2 separate regions of the Homo sapiens genome follow, and region 2 is linked to region 1. Evidence: promoter capture Hi-C in human tissues and cell types (Jung and others, 2019). All regions are on one chromosome and are shown on one strand. The core of a region is centred on a gene start or on the middle of the fragment in contact, and the rest is flanking DNA. Distances in the headings are between cores, read along the strand shown.

Region 1 (2,649 bases), core at 73-2,572:
AATTGTTAAGTACTCGACATATATGAGATGCTGCCTGCAAAACCAAAATCCAATTAGACGGAATTAATTTTAAAATACTAAAATCACAATCTTCATTTAGTGTCAACTTTCTACCCCGTAAAAATGTGATTTCCCCTTACTGCAACACAGAACTGCTTCTATTCATACCAATCAGAAGTTACAGGGCCAAAATGTTTTTCTAAACTATTAAAGAGAGTGGGAGAGGGGGGAAAGCGAAGGGGAAGGAAACCATCTGCTTTAACTTGCAAAAATGATCTTTTCTCCAAAAGACATCAGTGTTTTTCAGAAGAAAAATCCGGAGAGCCCGGTTCACTGGGCGTAGTTTTAAATAAAATTCATGGCGCTGATAGTTTTAGGATTAGACACCTCGAGATGGCGAAAAAGAGAAGAGGACAAACTTCCTGGATTTTCTCTCCCTCTAAGAGAAAGAGATTTCCTCTTGCTGACGAAGGGAAAGGCCCCTTTAACAGTTTTTCTCTACACGGTGGCTGCTGCCAGACTAAGTGGGGCTCTCTCCGCTGCCTTCCTCCTGCCACTTCCCGCAACAAATGGAGCAAGCAAGCCCCGTTTCAGGCAAACTTTTTCGCTGTCAGGCTCAAGCCCGCGGGGCGCCTGGGAGTGGTTTCCCCCGAAGGCTCCTCGCCCTAGCTCGGGGCTGGGAGAAGCTAGGTCTTCGCAAAGGACAACTTTCTGGTTTCCGTTCTAACTTCCACCCATACCACGGAGGGAACCCAGGCGACAAGCGAGGGGGCTCGGGGCGGGGAGCGAGTCTTCGGGGGAGCCGGCGGGGAAAGGAGGGCGGCGGGAGAAGCTGCGGCGGACGCGGGCTGAAGAGAGCGGGCGGGTGGGGGGGTCCTCGGGCTCTCACTTCCTCCGCCATATTTCAGACATTTGACCCCTTCCGCAAAGCGCGCTGTTCTCCCGCGGCGGCGGCGGCTGCTCCTCCTCGCCGGCCCGCAAGGCAGCGCGCTCGCGGGCCCGGCGCCTGGCCCTCGCGCCACCTGCCGCGCGCCGAGGGGCTGCCGCCGCCGGGGCCCCTGACCGCCGCGCCCGGCCCGCGCCTCGCCGCACCCCACCCGCTCCCCTCAGCCGGCGCCCGGCCCCGCGCGGCCGCCGCCGCGGCTTCCCTCAGCGGCCACGCACTCACTCTGCGAACCTCTCACGCTGTCACCGGGTCCCTGCAGCCAGCGTCGCCCCGCGCTCCCCCCGGGTCGCTACTCTAGGCGCCACGGCGGTCCTGCCGCTGCCGCGCCGCTCCGGCTGGTTTACACGCCTGAATCTGGGCGAGGTTTGGCGATGTCGCCTTGACGTCAGGCGTTCAGCCTCGCTCCAGCTTCCGCCCGCGGGCGGGGCGCGCGGGTGCGCGGCCCGGGAAGGGGCGGGCCTAGGGGGCGGGGCGAGGGGAGCCGAGGGGGCGGGGCCGCCGCGCGCCGGGTCCTCGGCGCCGGCCTCTAGCCGGCCTGCATCGCAGCCGGAGCGCAGGCCCTGCCCACGGGCCCCTTAGCTGCCTCTGGGCGGCATGTCTGCCGAGGTTCTTCTCTCTAGCTGCGCCGCGCCTTCAGGCTCGCTTCCCCAGGCTGTCTGGTGGGCGGAATCCGCGCGTCGGTGTTCCTGACCCTCGTGGGTTCCAGTGGAACCCTCCGAAACCCAAAAGGCGCCGCCTCTTAATGCAAACTGTAGTCACCGACTCGTCCAGTCTGTTGGTATTCGCGTCGTCCTTTGTGCTGGGCAAAGTAACCGAGAAGTAACGGAGAGCGCGCATTTTCTACACCTAGAGCTCCCCGAGGGAGCCTGGGCCAGCAAGTCTTTCCATTCTTGAGATGCCTTTTCTCCTGGATTGACAAGTGTTTTATCCATTGGTGTCTTAACCCGGGCGAACTCTTTCCAAATTCCCATGCCAAACGCAGTTAACAAATCGATGATTTCTAAATAAGTTTGTACCCTGCACCTAAACCAACGCCATTTATATAACTAAAATAAATTGCGTATTTAAATGCATGTCCTGGACGCTTTATTCACTTCACAGGATTACCCATAGGCAAGTAGGTTTATCGTGTGACTTCAGGGCACCAGAAAACACTTTCTGTTCCAAAATGCCTCGTTCCAAAAAGGGCGGGAACTTAACACGGGAATTTACCATTCTTACTTACCCTTAGTACAAGAAATTTATCAGAACTTTTTCTTGAAGCAGTTTTGATGGGCGAGGAGATTAAGAGAGCAAAGTGCAGGGAAAAGGGATTGAGGGGTCATTTAAGACTAACTTTCTTGGTTCATAATTTAATTAGGCCCTGTACAAATTATTCTTGAAATAAATCTTAATAAACGTTGATAAATTTGGAAGATAAATGGAATGTGACTAATTTCACTCCGTTTAAGAATATGTAGTGATTGAAAACTAAGCTAACCTAAGTTAAATGAATAGATGAGAATGAATTATAACAGTTCTCTGTGTTTTATAATGTTTTACAATTTAGGTTAATTGAGTAGATTACCTATTTCGATAATTTCTATTTCCTTAGAAAAATATCTTTTTAAAAATTGTTTATTGTCTGCATTTATTGTGTATACAACATGATCGTTTGAAGTAATGTATACATTGTTACATTACCTCACAGAGTTACCTTTTTT
Region 2 (2,649 bases), core at 41-2,540, 170 kb after region 1:
GAAGGAAGTAGGGTAGACACTCCCTTTAATCTGTAGGCATTAGTTGATACTCCAAAGAAATATGCAAATGAGCAGGGTGGAGGGGCTGAGTGCGACTGCTCACATTTGCATTGTATGCATGTGAGAGTAAACAGTAAATCAATAGCAGAGGGGATATAGGTTGGATATAAGGCAATGTTTTCTGGTATGATATTAAAGATTGTTAAAAATGGGTCACATAACAGAGGAAGGTTGTGGAAACACCTTCCCTAGCGGCTTCAGAAAACAGGCCAGAGTTCCATTTTAGCCGGTTATTTTAGGCCTACTCCAGGCAGCAGGGTAGACTAGACATCCTCTTAGGGTCCAATCGTTCCGTTCCTCTGACCCATAATAAATAAAGCTATAGATGCCGTTGTTGCCAATACATACACAAATGCAAAATGCTTCTACACAGTCTTGTGGCTGTAAATGTTGCTAGTTCATCTTCTACTTAGTGTTCTGAATTCACCTTTTGTTTAGAAAATTACCTCAGTCTTTAAGCACGGCAATCTCTTTCTCTAAAGGATTTATTCTATATTTCAAAGCAAGAACTGCAATGCATACTAATTTAACGTTTGTATTGACACTTACCTTAAAATGTGGAGAATACAAGCTAGGAAAAAGGATTTAAAAAATAGCCTGCTAGTCCGACTAAGTTCCAGCATACAAACAGAGTGATCTGGACATGTTGTGTGTCATAATCCCAGTGAGGAGGCTGGGACACATTTTCTTTCTCTGCCTTTAAAGTGAAGGAAGGGAATGGTCTTGAATATGCAAATGAATCTAATTTAATTAACTTTTACGACCACAGCTCCTTTGAGATAATCATGGGAGCCAATTCGATTTCCTTAAAATTCAGCCATTTCCCTAAAGCCTCCATGAGACACCCTTGTCTTTTCCAAGAAAAAAACAAAAACAAAAGCAAAATGTGAAAAGATCTAATCAGAAACAATGAAAAAGAGTAAGTTATCTGCTGCAGTTCTTCTATTTGGTCTCACCAGAAGCTGCTCACACAGTCATTTACTTCAGTTTGTCACTCCTGAGTCTGGCGCTGCCAGCCGCAGAGTGAAATCATTTCAGGTCAGTCATGTAACTGCTGACCCAGAGTTTATCCTAAACTGGGGCTATGAAAGGTAAAGGTAATGATATTTCATGCTTCTGAGCAAAAACTCAAGCCTCGTGAGGCTGAGGGAAGAATTGCCTTGACCTCAGGCCAGAGATGAAGACGAATTTATGCCACTTCTTCCTTTGCCATAATATTCTTTCCTTGTCCTCCCCCTGATTACAAATATAATACATATTTATTGGCCAGGTGCAGTGGCTCATGTCTGTAATCCCAGCATTTTGGGAGGCCAAGGCAGGCAGATTGCCTGAGGCCAGGAGTTCGAGACCAGCCTGACAAACATGGTGAAACCCCATATTTACTAAAAATACAAAAATTGGCTGGATCTGATGGTACGCCTGTAATCCCAGCTACTTGGGAGGCTAGGGCAGGAGAATCACTTGCACCTGGGAAGTGGAGGCTGCAGTGAGCCAAGATCGTGCCACTGCAGTCCAGCCTGGGCAACACAGCAAGACTCTGTCTAAAAAACAAAAAACAAAAAGCACTCCATATTTATTGTGAAAAATAAAAAAGAGAACAGAATGACTAAAAGAAGCTGCTCAGATCTTGGAAGAGTTTGGAAGGCTCTTTCCCAATTTTGATTCCTTCTTTTCCCCTTAATAAGCAGACTTTTAGAGGACTTTGTGGGTGGTGGTTGTGGTGGTAGTGGAAGACGGGGGTGCTAAGTTTGTGAAGTGGGGATGTTACATTCAAGTTCTTTTTCTTTTTTTTTTCCTTAAAAATTTTTTTTTATTGTGGTAAAATACTCATAACATTTACCATTGTAATCATTTTTAAGTGTGCAGTTCTGTGGCATTAATTACATTTACATTGCTGTTACCCATTGCTGTCATCCCCCTCCAGAAATTTTTCATTTTTCCCAACTGAAACTCTGTGCTCATTAACGATAACTGTCCAGCTCTTGGCTACCACTATTCTACTTTCTGTCTCTATGAATTTGACTATTCCAGGTACCTCACATCAGTGGAATCATACAGTATCTTTTTGTGATTTGCTTATTTCAGTTAGCTTAATGTCCTCCAGTTTCATCCATGTTGTAGCATGTATCATGTCAAAATCTCCTTCCTTTTTAAGGGTGAGTAATATTTCATTGTACATATATATCACATTTGCTTTTCCATTCATTTGTCAATTGACACTTGGGCTGCTTCCACCTTTTCGCTGTTGTGAATAGTGCTGCTATGAACACGGGTATACAAATATCTCCTTGAGACCCTGCTTTCAATTATTTTGAGTATACACTCAGAACCTTCCTTTTCTTTTAAACCTATATTCCACACCACTCACCTCTCTTGTTTCTAACACTATGCAATTACATAGCTGCCCATGGTTTCTAAATCCTGGCCCCTGAATCATTGTTCATGGTTGAAAAGTATGTGGTGGTTCCACCCATTATCCGATCCACCTGAAAGTGCCTTGAGACACGTTCGGCAATGTGCAATTGGGTTTCTGGGAGCTATGCTACCTGCTAGTTCTAGAAACATTAAATGTCACATGACTTAAATATT

Evidence for each region. The method cuts DNA at HindIII sites, captures the fragments that hold promoters and counts their contacts. A contact is called where the count stands out against the background at its distance.
Region 2: a fragment that was not itself captured here is called in contact with the fragment with the promoter of RAP1B in region 1 in 1 of the 25 tissues and cell types used here (H1 embryonic stem cells).

What each region holds. Positions count from the first base shown.
Region 1 is chr12:68,609,572-68,612,220 of GRCh38, reverse strand. It overlaps RAP1B (RAP1B, member of RAS oncogene family), which reads right to left and starts at 1,322. Exons shown (of 8, transcript NM_001010942.3): 1 at 1,178-1,322. RefSeq lists a silencer at 1,006-1,465. The HindIII fragment of the contact is 12,288 bases long and covers 1-2,649 here.
Region 2 is chr12:68,436,982-68,439,630 of GRCh38, reverse strand. The region is part of intron 2 of LINC02384 (long intergenic non-protein coding RNA 2384); the gene reads left to right. Among named protein-coding and RNA genes, the nearest start is that of LINC02384, 13 kb to the left of the region's middle. The HindIII fragment of the contact is 5,738 bases long and covers 1-2,649 here.